Regions from separate parts of the Homo sapiens genome. Here all the other regions are linked to region 1. Evidence: promoter capture Hi-C in human tissues and cell types (Jung and others, 2019). All regions are on one chromosome and are shown on one strand. The core of a region is centred on a gene start or on the middle of the fragment in contact, and the rest is flanking DNA. Distances in the headings are between cores, read along the strand shown.

The links. Contacts are between HindIII fragments. The study calls those that stand out against the background at their distance.
Region 2: a contact is called between a fragment that was not itself captured here and the fragment with the promoter of CCL27 in region 1, in 1 of the 25 tissues and cell types used here (dorsolateral prefrontal cortex).
Region 3: the fragment with the promoter of TPM2 here is called in contact with the fragment with the promoter of CCL27 in region 1 in 1 of the 25 tissues and cell types used here (stomach).

Annotation. Positions count from the first base shown.
Region 1 is chr9:34,660,321-34,665,017 of GRCh38, forward strand. CCL27 (C-C motif chemokine ligand 27) reads right to left here and starts at 2,337. Exons shown (of 3, transcript NM_006664.4): 1 at 2,244-2,337; 2 at 1,964-2,096; 3 at 1,570-1,759. The coding sequence starts at 2,313. The coding sequence ends at 1,624. It overlaps IL11RA (interleukin 11 receptor subunit alpha), which reads left to right. Exons shown (of 13, transcript NM_001142784.3): 10 at 1-73; 11 at 184-280; 12 at 534-616; 13 at 1,162-1,582. The coding sequence ends at 1,178. It overlaps LOC730098, which reads right to left. Exons shown (of 3, transcript NM_001320038.2): 3 at 3,843-4,697. The HindIII fragment of the contact is 14,352 bases long and covers 434-4,697 here.
Region 2 is chr9:35,743,533-35,748,229 of GRCh38, forward strand. GBA2 (glucosylceramidase beta 2) reads right to left here. Exons shown (of 17, transcript NM_020944.3): 2 at 1,083-1,174; 3 at 765-880. Among named protein-coding and RNA genes, the nearest start is that of GBA2, 3.3 kb to the right of the region's middle. The HindIII fragment of the contact is 5,426 bases long and covers 1-4,697 here.
Region 3 is chr9:35,687,754-35,692,450 of GRCh38, forward strand. TPM2 (tropomyosin 2) reads right to left here and starts at 2,172. Exons shown (of 9, transcript NM_003289.4): 1 at 1,951-2,172; 2 at 1,393-1,518. The coding sequence starts at 2,064. RefSeq lists an enhancer at 137-614 and a silencer at 3,510-3,589. The HindIII fragment of the contact is 5,966 bases long and covers 1-4,697 here.

The DNA.
Region 1 (4,697 bases), core at 1,087-3,586:
CCAGAGGTGGAGCCTCAGGTGGACAGCCCTGCTCCTCCAAGGCCCTCCCTCCAACCACACCCTCGGCTACTTGGTGAGCTTGGGCAGATGGGCAAGACTTGTAAAGGACTGAAAACCCCAGAGAAAAGGGGACACCGAGCTTGGTCAGGCTTGCTCTCAGTGACATGTGGCCCTCCCCCTCAGATCACAGGGACTCTGTGGAGCAGGTAGCTGTGCTGGCGTCTTTGGGAATCCTTTCTTTCCTGGGACTGGTGGCTGGGGCCCTGGCACTGGGGCTCTGGTAAGTGACTGCCATTGGTCCCTCAGCCTCTGATCCTCACACATGCTCTGATGCCCATAGACCACATTCATCTCCACCCTTCATGACTGCCCGCTGAACCTGTCTGATTCTGGAACTACCTCCCCATACCTCCATCCCCCATGCCCCACTTGATTTTAACTGATTCCTCTCCTGACCCTTTACTAATAAACCCTTTGGCGGAGACTGAGATAACCCACATTGTTGGAGAGACAGCTGCCTTTCTATGCCCCAGGCTGAGGCTGAGACGGGGTGGGAAGGATGGATCCCCAAAGCCTGGGTTCTTGGCCTCAGTGATTCCAGTGGACAGGCGTCCAGGTGAGTAGGACATCCAGAAGATTTGGACTTGGAGATGTTTGCCCCTATTTTGAGTGTCCAGATTAAGAGCTGGCTGCCCTAGTCATTTTAAAACATGCTGGGAATCCAAGTTGGGTCTCCTCATTTTAATGATGTCTAGGCTGAGGGCTGGGCCTTTCATTCTTGAGTCCCTGGGCTCAGAAGTGGGTCTCTTTCCCTCCTCTCAGGGTACTGAGGAAGGACCCCAGGTGGACTTCCCTTCAGGGTATTAGTATTAGTACTAATACTCTTCCAGGGTATTAGACTCAGAGCTGGATATTCATCCTTTTTTTTCAAGGTGTCTTGGATCAGTGCTAGGTCCCCTCCTTCATTCTTAATGTGCCTGGGCCCAGAGCTAGGTCCACTCCCGTATCTTCAGTGTGTTGAAGAGGCTCCCTCAGAGCTGGGCTCCTCTACTCATCTTCAGAGTGTTAAGCTTAGAACTGAGTCACCTCCCTCATTCTCAGGGTGTCTGGGCCAAGATCCGGTCTTACTGTCTCTCCTGATTTGCCTCCTGCTTCTTCTAGGAGCTCCAAACCTGTAGAGGACCCAGGAGGGCTTCGGCAGATTCCACCTATAATTCTGTCTTGCTGGTGTGGATAGAAACCAGGCAGGACAGTAGATCCCTATGGTTGGATCTCAGCTGGAAGTTCTGTTTGGAGCCCATTTCTGTGAGACCCTGTATTTCAAATTTGCAGCTGAAAGGTGCTTGTACCTCTGATTTCACCCCAGAGTTGGAGTTCTGCTCAAGGAACGTGTGTAATGTGTACATCTGTGTCCATGTGTGACCATGTGTCTGTGAGGCAGGGAACATGTATTCTCTGCATGCATGTATGTAGGTGCCTGGGGAGTGTGTGTGGGTCCTTGGCTCTTGGCCTTTCCCCTTGCAGGGGTTGTGCAGGTGTGAATAAAGAGAATAAGGAAGTTCTTGGAGATTATACTCAGAAATTATTATCCAATGCTGCTTTATTATTTGGCTATTGGGGGCTTCAGCCCATTTTCCTTAGCATCCCAAAATTCAGCTTGGGCAGAGTCCCATGGAGCTTTCTCTCTTGGTGCTCAAACCACTGTGACAGGCTGGGGTTCTGGGGGTGGATGCAGATGCTGCGTTGAGCCAGGTGAAGCCTGGGTAGAGAAAGGTCCAAAGCTATGACCATAGCTTGGGGATGAGATTAGGGTCATCCCCAATGACCCTAATTAGGGGTTAGGAGCAAGGACCAGATGAAAACCTGAGTTGGCAACAGAATTAGCAGTTAGGGCTGGGGTTGGGATCAGCATTAGGGGTTGGGACTGAGGTCAGAGTCAGGGGTATCAGGGGTGGGAGCTCACACGAAAGCCTGGAGGTGACAGTCCCCGTCAGCCTCCTGCAGTTCCACCTGGATGACCTTCCTCAGTAGCTTGTCTGAGAGTGGCTTTCGGTAGAGCTGAGTACAGCAGGCAGTGCTGGGTGGCAGTAGGAATGCTAGGGGCAACAGGGCCATGTGTTCAGAGGGATCCTGACCAAGAACCTCTCTGCCAGACAGCTGGAGGTTAGGTTGGATTTCCTGGGTCTTTTCAACTTCATCCCATTCACCCAGACCCCCAGCTTTCTATACCCCCAAGTACTCACCTGCTGTAGGGTCTGGGCTCAGGAGCAATGACAGCAGCAGGAGGCTGCAGAAGGTTGGGGGCCCCTTCATGTTGCTCAGCCTAGACTCTTCCTTCTCTCTCTCTCCTCCTCCCCTACCTTTTATCTGGGTGCCTTTTACCTGGGGCACTAGGTGAGTCAGAGGCAGTTGGAGATGTACTGTGTAACCTGTGACACTCCTGGGCCCTAATTCTCGGCCTGTTGCCACAGACTCCTTCCTCATCTAGGATAGCCATTTCCCATGTGCTCCTAAGCTCTGGGCAGTGAAGCTGGGGGAAGGATTAGTGTGTGATGTAGGGACTGATGGAACAGTGAGTAAGGGCAGTCAAGCATCCACAGCAGCATCTAATGATAGACATTCACACTCAAATACGCATAGCCACACATTCAAAGTCACTCCTCAATCACTTGGTCAACCTCACAAAGTCATACTCATGATCAGACAACCGTAGACAAAATTATATAGCCCCGGTTATACTCAAAGTCCCTCTCCCACCCAATTGTGTTTTCACAGTCATCCAATCACAAGCAAATTCACACTAGCACACACAGATTCTGACAGGGGAGTTGTGGGTGGGGTGGGAGCAGAGGGCAGGCAAGCACCAACTTGCCTTCACCTTCTCCTCCCCACTTCCTGGCTTGGCCTGCCTGTCTTATCAGAAGAAATGGATGGGAATGGGTCCCTAGAGCAGGCCCTTCTGGCTGAGGAGGGTTCTTGGCTGAGGCCAGCCCCATTCAGAGAAGCTGGGGGAAGGCCCTTTATGGTAATATTAAGGGTGTTTTGGAGATGCTGAGGTGGGGCAGCTTTCCCCAGGATGATGAGACAGGGAGGAAAGGTGGGGTAGATAAGGAGGGAAGATAAAAGCTCTTTGGTGCTAGGTTACTGTTGTCAAAACAGGTAAAAGGCCCAGTGAATCTTACCTTCCTGTTTTTGTCTAGTCCTGTTCCAGGAATGCCAACCTCTTGCCAGCAGGGGCCTAGGGTCTCCAGATCCAGTCCCTGACTTGTTGAAGACATTGGACTCAAGCACTCAATTACATCTTTGTTTTACTCAAATTCCAGCCTCCTTCCTGGGCCTGGAGGAACATCCCCTCTCCCTACCCGGGTTCAGTCACACCCTCATGTCCAACTGCTATACCCCCTGCATCCCACCCTCCAGCTATAGCCGCTTCTCTCCTAATCCCATACCCAGCTGTCACTCCGTTCTTTACCCCCTCCCTGCAATGCAAAGCTCCTATTCATCTTTATCCAGTCCTTTCCAGGAAGCTGGGAGCTGCCTAGGGTGGGGGTATGCTGCCAAGTTCAGTGCCCCTGGCTCCTTTAAGAATTTCCCACTCCTGGTCCAGGGATCTCAATCTGCAAGTCCTGCTCTATATTTGAAACATAAACCAAGTCATAACACAGTAATCCAGCCCTTATCTTGTTGCAGTCGTCTGCTGTAGGGTCAGCCACTCTCTATGGAGTAGGCTTTCTCTTGGGATAGGGCTTAGGCCTTTCTCTTGTGTCCCAAGGCTTGTTGGGTGTAGCCACTGAGGAAATCCCAAGGAAATCTCCCAGGTTCCTCGGGCTTGTCATAGACCTTCTTCATCACTTGGCTGTGCGCTACATACTTTCTGGTCTTCCCTGGGCTTGTCGGTCCAGAAGTCTTCGGAAGGCAGAAAACAAATGCTTTTGGGTGTGCACCCATCTCTCCCCTTTAAGACCAAGTCTTCTCCCCAGCCACAATCTGCTGTAGCTTTGGCCCCAGCCAGAAACTGGGCCATCTCTTTCTTTAACTTAATCTTGTGGTGCCCTTTCTGGTGCTGGGTCCAGTCCCTAACTGAAGGCAGGCCCACATAGCAGTCCCTGATTCTCACCACTTGAGGAGTTAGTGGGTCCCAGGCTGATTGGGTGACAGAAGGGGGCGGCAAAGAGCAGTGGCCCTTGGACTCTCCTAGGGAGGGAGCAAGAACTTCTAGGTAGGCTGATGCCAAGGATCTCTAAACTTGGGATCAGACTGGAGGAGCCAAAAGTTGGGGTATGAACTGTAGGAAAGGTCGCCAACCCAAGTCGCTCCTCTGTGGCAGGCAGCTTCTAGGAATCTCCCCCTCTTACCATTTACAGCCTGCATCCTACACCTCTGCTTAAAATGTTTTAGATATACTCCCAGCAGAGAAGATTCTTCAGACAGCTGGCAAAGTCCTCGCTCCGAGGAAGGGAGTAACAGGCAGGATTATTTAGTTCTCTTCATATAGGCGACTCACAGTATGGGTTTTTGGGGGTTGGGATTGGGGGAGACAGCCATTGATAGTAACAGGAGGCCTGACACTGATGAGGGGCTTTGACGTGGAAGGGCACCCTTCCAGGGAGGGACGCCCTGTCAGTACGGAACAGAGCCCGTGTGGGGAGGGGCGCTCGGCTCGAATGGCGACAGCGGCGGCAGAGTCAGGAGGTCAG
Region 2 (4,697 bases), core at 846-3,345, 1.1 Mb after region 1:
AACGTGAACCAGGAAGGGTATTGTCATTAATTGGACTAAAGATTTGCTAGTCATTTTTCCTTTGAAGATGAGGCTGAATGCTGGAGCCAAGAAAGAGGAACTTCCTAGGCAACTCTAAAGGGGCGGTCAACTAGAGAGAGATGATGAGAGGCAGGACACATACTTCTGGCAATTTAAGGCCCAGATGTGATGCAGGAGCAAAAGGAAAAAAGTGAAGCTTCAGAAGAGGGAAGAAGGCTAGAGATCTAAGCCTGGGAGAGAAGGAGCTTTTTAGACCCTAAGCCAGGAGACCTCCAGGGGAGTGATCAGCAGAGGAGCTGAACTTTGGTGAAGGTTCCTCAATCAGGGTGAGGAACCTTGTACTACGTGTCTTTTTTTCCCATGAGTTTATAGACTTTGGGTTTTCTTTTCCCTTCCAGTCCTACAAAATGTTCTTTCAGGCAGGTTAAGTGATTTGGGAATTCTCTGCATTCTCTGTGGTTGGGGGCTGCCTCAGCTAGTTGGGTTGGGGCAGTGAGGTAGACAGGAGGCATTTACTAGAGAAATGCCAGATCTGTTTACTCTTTCAAGGAATGTGTGCTTGTGTGTGTCTTATTCCTACGGTATATCCTAGCTCAGGGCTGGGCACACAGGAAGCATCCCGAGAGTACTTATTAGATTGAATCTTATTCACATCTAACTGCTACCTTCTACACTAGCCAAGAGGTCCTTCCTTCTTGGCCTGGGGAGGTATTGTCCTGGCCTCTCCACCTCCTGGCTCTTACTTGGTCAGCGATGACTGTCCGGTGCTGATACATTCCAGGGTTAAGCTGCCAACGACAGAACTGGCCTCTCCAGCCACGGGTAATAGTGCCTCCCCCGATGCCACCCAAGGGACAACCTAGAGAAATCAGGGTGGTTAGTGGGGTATTGGGAGAGGAAAATAAGCCCATTTCTAACTTTCTAGACTATAAAGCCTGGTTCCTCTGAAAACCTAGGGGATGGAACAGTGCAATTTGCATAAGCTGGAAGTCTCTTCCTAACTGTGGTAGACCTGGAGGCTAGGCCTTCTCTGAGCAGAGCAGAGATGGGGTGGGGCTCACCATAAATCTGTCTTAGGGGTACAGAATTGATCATGTCGATGAAAGGTGTCTTCTTTTCCACATGGGTCTTCCGGTACCACCACTGCAGGTACCTGAGGAGCAAGAGGCAATGTGAGTGGAAGGGGGCAGGTGGGCAGCTGTTCACAGGCTGAGTCACCTGCCTCTCTCTGTGACCTCCCATTAAATGTCCCAAGGACATCTGCTTTCAAACCTTTCTTCCTCTTGATTTCTATACAGTTCAAGGTCCCTTCATCTTCCCAGTCACCCCAGCTGAAGTGAAGGAGTGGCTTTGTTTCTCTCCTTTGTTCTCCTCAGAAGGGGCTTTCTGATCTCTCCTTACCTCTCTAGCACCACCACCACTGCTTTATTTCCAACATCAGGAGCTTCTGTCTGACGTGCTGAAAGGACCATTTATGGTTTCCTGGCCTACAGCCTCCGCCCCCAATCCCCTACCTCCAAAACAGGCATAGGCTGCTGGGAATAACTTTCTTATCTTTATTTTTATTATTTATTATTTTTTTTTTGAGACAGAGTTTCGTTCCTTGTTGTCCAGGCTGGAGTGCAGTGGCTCGGTCTTGGCTCACTGCAAACTCCGCCTCCCAAGTTCAAGAAATTCTTCTGCCTCAGCCTCCCAAGTAGCTGGGATTACAGGTGCCCGCCACCATGCCTGGCACATTTTTTTGTGTTTTTAGTAGAGATGGGGTTTCACCATGTTAGCCAGGCTGGTCTTGAACTCCTGACCTCAGGTGATCCGCCCGCCTCGGCCTCCCAAAGTGCTGGGATTAGAGGCGTGAGCTACCGCTTCTGGCCTTTCTTCTTTTTAAAATGATCATTTTTCTTTCTAATTATGAAAGGTGAAAGGGGGAAAAAAATAATCTCACCCATAGACAATCAGTGTTTATATTTATTTCTGGACATTTCCTCTCAAGCCTTTTTTTTTTTTTTTTTTAAATTCAACATTTAAACTGTGAAGCTTTCTGATTTTGCTCTTGGTAAAGCCTTCAAAAAATCCCAACATTTTCCTGGGCTTGGTACAGCCCTATATCCAAGAGGCAAATGATTGAGGCTGTTTTCAATAGGCAAACGATTCTGTTTTCAAGGCTCTGACATCTGTCCCAGCCTATCTTCTAATCTTATTTCCTACAAATTCTCATTCCAGATGGGTCCTCACTAAGTAGCCCCTGCCCTGCCAGACTCTTTCCCATTTCCACTCTCCTGCCTACTGCCACATTATGCCTACTGTTCAGTCACACCACTTCTAACCAAATAATTGGGTAAGTAACCCCTAAGTCCCAGTTTCCTCATCTACAAAATGGGGATACCACCTGCTCTAGCTATCTAATGAAATGGTTGAAAGATCAAATGACATAATAGATAAGAAAGCCATAAAGTACAGGTATGATTATTACTCATATATACAAACTGTTATCTCAATTCCTAATCAGACATTGCCTTGTTATTTCAATGTTCCTCATGTGAGGCTGACATACTTTTAAGTTCCTTGGGGAAAGGGACAATGACAAAGACTAGCTGAATATTACCCTCAGGTCCAAGCACAGGGTAGGACATATGGTCTGCAGTCAATGCATATTTGCCAATTTTACAGATGAATGAACATACAAATGATGGGGCACAAGAGAGATAACAGACTGGAGCAGAGGAGAAGAAATGTGATTAATGAATAGGGACAGCGGCCAGGCACGGTGGCTCACACCTGTAATCCCAGCACTTTGAGAGGCCGAGGTGGGCGGATCACGTGAGGTCAGGAGTTCAAGACCAGCCTGGCCAATGTGGTGAAACCCCGTCTCTACTAAAAATACAAAAACATTAGCCAGCTGTGGTGGCAGGCACCTGCAATCCCAGCTACTCAGGAGGCTGAGGCAGGAGAATCGCTTGAACCCAGGAGACGGAGGTTGCACTGAGCTGAGATTGCACCATTGTACTCCAGCCTGGGTGACAAGAGCAAGACTGTCTCAAAAAAAAAATAATAATAAAATAAAAAGGGACAGCACATTCTAGGGGTGGAAAGAAGAGGGAAGACAAAGGATGGGATGACAGGAAGGCAGAGAATCCTCTCTGCCAGCTTAGAGAAAACCGGACTTTGAAACTAGAGACCAGAAAGGACTGGTAGAGGGAGGGTGTGGCCGAGGATTAGGGCAACCAGGGAGAGTAACTGCAATCTATGAGGACAGACAGAACAAAGGACTATCTGGCATGGAACAAGCACTCAATAAATATTTATTGAATGAGTGGACTCTGGCTGGAAGGGAGAACAATTGAAATTGAGTTCTTACGAAGGTAAGACCCAGAGAATTCTGTCTTGCTAGAGCTCCTGGTCAGAGTGCCCACAGTTCAGCTCCATCTTAGGAGCTCTCTTACTCCCTTAATATGGTAGCTGGCCATTCCTGACCTATTTGGCCTTCTCCACAATTTCAACCTCAACTCAAGAGTTATCACTTAGAATTCTTGTCTCACCTGTGCTTTCTCCTCATAGGAACTCATCCTATTCCAAAAGCCTTGTATCAGTACCCCCCACTCTATCCTGGAATGGGGAGCCAGGGTCCAGGGGGTTGAGCACAGCTTCAGGCCTCTATGACTCAGTTCATATTTAAGGGCTAAGAGGCTAGGATGCCCATCTTTTCTTGATCTCATTGTTCCTACCACATGCAACTCAGTGTACTTCTCTATGTACACTAGATCCTATTTTGATGCAAAAACTTTTGGGGTCAAACTTGGACTGAATTGATTCCAGAAGCAGCCTGGAGGGATGATTCTTCTCTGCTACAGGCTACCCACAGGCACCAACAAAGCCAGATGTGCAGGCAGCATCAGGCCCTTCCCACTCCCCAGGGCTAGGGTTAGATAACTGATCTCCCCATCACAGCCCCACAGCACTGACTGGGGAAATGAAGGGTCTCCTACTCTAGAAACTGTAAGGGCAGGGTTTCCCAAGCTTTATGCCTCCCTCCACAGTTCTGTGTGTATTGTGTAGACTGAGTCAGGATGACCTCAGGGTGATGCTTTCTGTCCTCACATCCACCTGTTCCTGTTAATGGGTCTGGCTCCTCATCACTAGTCTTTGAACTCAGTGGGGATCTAGATGGGTTCTACATCTATGGCAGTGCCTCTCTGATAAATGACTTAATATCAAGAGCTCTCTATCCCAGAACAGAATGACAGCACCTTCTCATCACTTCAGAGGTGAGGGCAGGGAGGCTCTTCTTACCTACTCCCTGGAGCTAAAGCTTGAAGAAAGAAGCAGTAGTGTTGGGACTCTAACAGTGTGTCTAATGAGGTACAGAGAATGCCCCAGCTGCTTGTGGGAAATAAGGGGTTGAGACCCCCCCACCCCCAAATAAAACAACATTGTGTTAGTATCACAGCAGCCAGATTATCCTTTCCTACCTTGCCACAAAGTATAGCTAATCCCAAAGGGAAGTCATTGGAAACCAGTATGTGAGAAGAGCCTGAATGGGAAAGGCTGATTGCATGACCAAATGTTCCTACCCTTTCCTTCTGAAAAGACAAAACACTGGGAGGGAAGGGTGTTGCAAAGAGATGTGACCTGGTCTCACGGTCCAAAACCACAGGCCTAAAATATGCCAGGGATAGGGA
Region 3 (4,697 bases), core at 922-3,421, 1.0 Mb after region 1:
ACTCTGCATGATGGTGGGGTGACAAAAGACTCTGGAAAGTTTGGGAAGTCCTGGGGTCCTCATCATGGGACTGATATGTGCCATTTCCTGCCTCTCAAGCTCTTCCCAGTTACGGGGGCGGCTCTCTAACCACAGGACAGGCACTACTGTCCCCATTAGAAAAATGGGAAGCAAGAGAGAGGGAGAAACTGAGGCACCATGTAAGTTGAGTGCTGTGTTCAAGGTCACCAGGAAGCTTGGGCAGTCTTTCCTATCTGCTCCTGGTGCTGCGGCTCTGCCTCCCCAGCTCTGTCCCTGTCCCCCCTGCCCCTCCAGCCCCCACCAGCAACTTGGGTTTCCAATCTTGCCTCCAGCTGCACTGGGCCTTGGTTATTTATAGAGTGTCAGATGCCCAGGGTTGTCTGTGCTAGCAGCTGCAGGTCAGCTCCCTCCCAAGTGCCAGGACTGGTGGAGAACCAAAACTGGAGGCTGGAGGTCACAGAAGCCCAACCCCTGGGGGGCTGGGAACATGAGCAGTCGACACAAACAGCTATGTCATCTCTGATGTTCAGACCATGCTTTATGCTAATCTAACCATAGGTTCATCTTAAAACAATCCTGGGTGGAAGGAAGATGGGGAAACTGAGGCAGAGAATGGGGAAACTACCACCACACCAAAGCCATATGGCCATTCTCCTACCTTAAGCTGGGGGTTGGGAATGGCAGGAAGTGAAGTCTGGTTGGGGTTGTGGGGTGGGCAGAGAAATCTCAGGGTAAATGACCTGCCAAGGTAGCTGCTTTGGCATTTGTGGCCCTGTCCCTCTGCCCTGTGGCCTGGCATGGTCTCCAGGCTGACAGCTTAATGAGGGTAAATGAGGAGCCATTAGAACCTGAGCTGGGGCCCCAGGGCACAGCAGGGCTGCTGAAGCCAGAGGTCAAGGCCAGGGAATTTCTAATGGCCCCTTAGGGTTGTAACTCAAGTGGGGTCTCATCTCTGGATCCCTCTCCCTCCTCCTGCAGGCTAGTACCTCACATCCACATCCCCCCATCCCCAAACGGCTGCAGTCTCCTCTCCAATTTCAGCTGGAGGATTAATTGAGGTAGATGGTAAATTCTTATACCTTCCACCCCCACAATGACTCATTGCTTGATCACTGTACATTCTAAAAGCTGGAACCAAACAGAATTACAGGGCTAAGTCCTCTGGGGGAAGTGGTAGGTGGTTTTGATTTATCCACTGTCTTGGATTACTTGTGTAAGTTTACCCTAGCCCTGGTTACTGAGATGAAACCATTTCTCTCCTGGCGCTGGGGACATAAGGGGATAAGGTGCCCCAATCCTCTTATTCCCATACCCGGGGGGCCCCTTCCCAGAGCCCTAACTCCTCCCATTGTCCCCCAAGTCCACACTCACATCAGTGGCCTTCTTCTCGGCCTGCTCCAGTTTCTCCTGGGCCTCCTTCACGGATTCAGAATACTTTTCCACCTCATCCTCTGTCCCCTTCAGCTTCTTCTGGAGGGCCTGCTGCTCCTCCTCCAGCTGGGACAGAGGGGACTTGGTCAGCCAGGCTGGGAGGGGGCCCAGGCCCAGAATGGAGACGCGGTGTGTGTAGGGGCGCTACTAAGATTTGGAGGCTACTGGGATGGAAGCGGAATAACATAAAAGGGACAGTACAGTCAAGGGTACTGGTGGGACCCGTTGAGGGTACAGAGAAAACTTCAGGCCCCAAGGAGCAGGACCAACCGCGCTCTGCAAAGGCAGAGTGGAAACCAGGGGCCTGGGGCTTCCCCAGGCTATTGTAGGGGAGAGAAGCGGCTCTGGCGAAGGCCCTGAGGGTACTGCGAAGGCCCAGCCCCCACCCTGGGTGAGAGAGAGCCTTGGCGGGCAGGCCCGGGGCTGGGGGACCCATGGCAGCGGCCCACCCTTGCCCTAGGCGCGGGGAGAGCAGGCTGCACTGGGCCCGGCCCTAACCTGCTTGCAGCGGTCCTCAGCTTGCTTCTTGTCGGCTTCGGCCTGCTCGGCGCGGTCGATGGCGTTCTCCTTGTCCAGCTTCAGCATCTGCATCTTCTTCTTGATGGCGTCCATGGCTGCGGTGGGGGGTGGGCCGGCCGGCAGGCGGTGAGGACCGGACGGACTGGGCTGGGTGAGCGGACTGGGTGCACCGGTGGCAGGCGAGGAGGACGGAGCGGGACTGGGACGTCCCGGCCACGCGGGCGCCTAAAAGGCGGGGAGGGACCGGGCGGGGCCGGCAACCAGGACCCTCCCCCACCTCGGCCCAAACCTTGTAGGGGCAGAAGCACGGCCCGGCCGGGGGGTGCGGCCGCCCCCTTCGCCCACCCACTGGGGACCGCCTCCCTTGGGGTCCCGCCCCCATCCCCCTCTTCCCTGCCAGCCGTCGGAGGAAAAAGTGGCCGACGGTCGGCTGGAAAAACCCCGGCGATGCGAAGGGGAGGGGACCCTTGGGCTGGGGGCTCCGTGCTTCCTCTGAGTGACAGCCGGACCCAGTGGCAGCTGCGGCTGGGGCCCCTGGGGCTATTTCGGGGCGTGAGCTCACGGCAGCTGCCCGGGCGCAGGGACCGGCGTGCCCCCCCTCAGCTGCAGCAGCCGCTACCCTTAATTTAGAAGTTTCCTGCAAATCCCCCCGGATTAAATGTCTCTCGGGAGGCGGAGCTCCTCGGCAGTTTGAGTGCCTCAGTTTACCCTGAGTCCCTCTAGGTTTGCGTTATCGACGTGGTGGTAGTAGCGGAGTCTCATCGGGAGCTTGGGGAAACTGAAGCAGGAAGCGAGCCCAGAGCCCCGGTCGCGGTGGGGAGTGTGGCCGGGCTTGCTGCCCCCAGGACCGGCCTGACCTCTCATCCCCTCGCCTCCCCTCCCAGCCCCTGCCCCTGGAGCCAGGCCCTTCCTGCGAGCACCCGGCGGCTCAGGACCCAGCTCCCCGCCCCGCCCCCCACGTGCCCCGCATATTTTCCACGCGGCTGCGGCCAGGCTGGTCACCGCGCGTTCCCCGCCCCCGCTCCCACCCGGACGCGTCCCGAGCCCCTCCGCTCCCCGCCCCTGGCTCCGCCTGGCCCCACTCCCCTCCGCGCGCCTTCCCTCTTCTCCCCCGCTCCCCGCGGACGCTCCTCTCTTTCCCAGTGGGCCAACTTTATGCTGAAATTTCTTTTCTGCCCTTTTTTGGGATGTTTCCCCATTGGGAGGCGGAGCCGGGCTGCGGCGGGGAAGGCGGAGGGCGAGGGGAAGAGTCACTGAGCTGCGGGGCATAGGGGGTCCGGGGCGAGGTGCCTTCTCCCACCCAGGCCGCCAAACCAGCGCCGGAGCCGGGTCGTGGGGTCTGGGAGTCGGAGGCGCGAGGCGCGAGGGTGTTTGTTTTCGTTTTTCCCTGGGGTGGGGTGGGGGGAAAGGAAGTGGAGAGCCGCCGGGAGGAGGGGGAAGGGGAGGAGAGAACAAGCGGAGGAAGCCGGGAGGGAGCTGCTAGCCTCGCCCCCACCCTCCAGTCATAGAGGGGCGGGAGGCCTGGATTTTGCAGTGGGCTGGGGACCGTGGGAACCCGAGGCCGCTGGCCGGGGCGGTGGGGAGGTGGCGTGGAAATGCATTCAGATCTGTTTAGCTGCCTGCTAGCCACACGGAGAGCAACCCTGGCCTGACCTCGCAGTGTTCCTCTAACTCCGTGGAAGACGCCTCATCCACCAGTAGCCTATGCTAGACCACTGGGTATCCCCTGCCCTTCGCGTCTCACAACCACCTAATCCTGGAGAGGCTGCCTTCTACCAAGGAGGTTCCTCCTCGGGTCGGTCTGGGCTGGCCTCTGGCCGCGCCTTATGTTTTCTTCAGTCTGTTTTGTAGTCTTACTTCTAGTTCCTCAACTCATTCATTCATTTGACTGTCCCATGACATTGTTGTCAAATATCTTTTTAAAAGTTAATGCGAATATTATCTAAAATTCTCCAAAACCCCTCCCTAATCCCTGTCCCCCCACCTTTTTTGAGACGGGAGCTTGCTAGATTGCCCAGGCTGGTCTTGAACTTATGGGCTTAAGTGATCCTCCCGACTCAGCCTCCTGAGTAGCTGGGATTACAGGCGTGCGGGCACCCTGCCTGTTTTGAGGAGAAAAAAAAAATCCACATTTCTTAATATGGTATAGAAGGCCCGTTGTTTTGGCTGTTGCCTGCCTCTCTGGCCTCATCTCCTTCCATGCCCAACCTCACCCCCAGTATTCATACTTGTACCTCATGCTGCATTCATAATGAGCTACGTGCAGGAGCTGGAAATAGCCATACTTTTCTTAAAGCTTCCACAGTTTATGCATTCTGTTCTCTCTCCCTAAAATGCCCATCCCCTTGGCTGATTCCTGGTGGCCTTTAAGACTCAGTAAGTGTCAGCTTTTCTGGGAAGCCTTCCCTGGCCACTTCTCTTCCCACCGCCTCACCTAATAGGTGCGTGTTCTTGGTGCGGGCTCTCACCCTCATCCTAGTCCCATGGTATAACTGTTCTTATACCGGTTTGGCGCCTCCGCCGGTCTGTGAGTCCTCAACAGAAACGACTGTTCTCAATTCTGAATCCCCAAGGCCTATCACAGCACCAGGCATAGAGTTGGCACTTCATGAACATTTGCCAGATGAGTTTTTTATGTACCAGTTTCTGGGTACTTATCAAATATACTAATACGGTGTGGGTCTTTTGGTCTTAGAACCCATTACACTCTTAAAAAGTATTGAAGA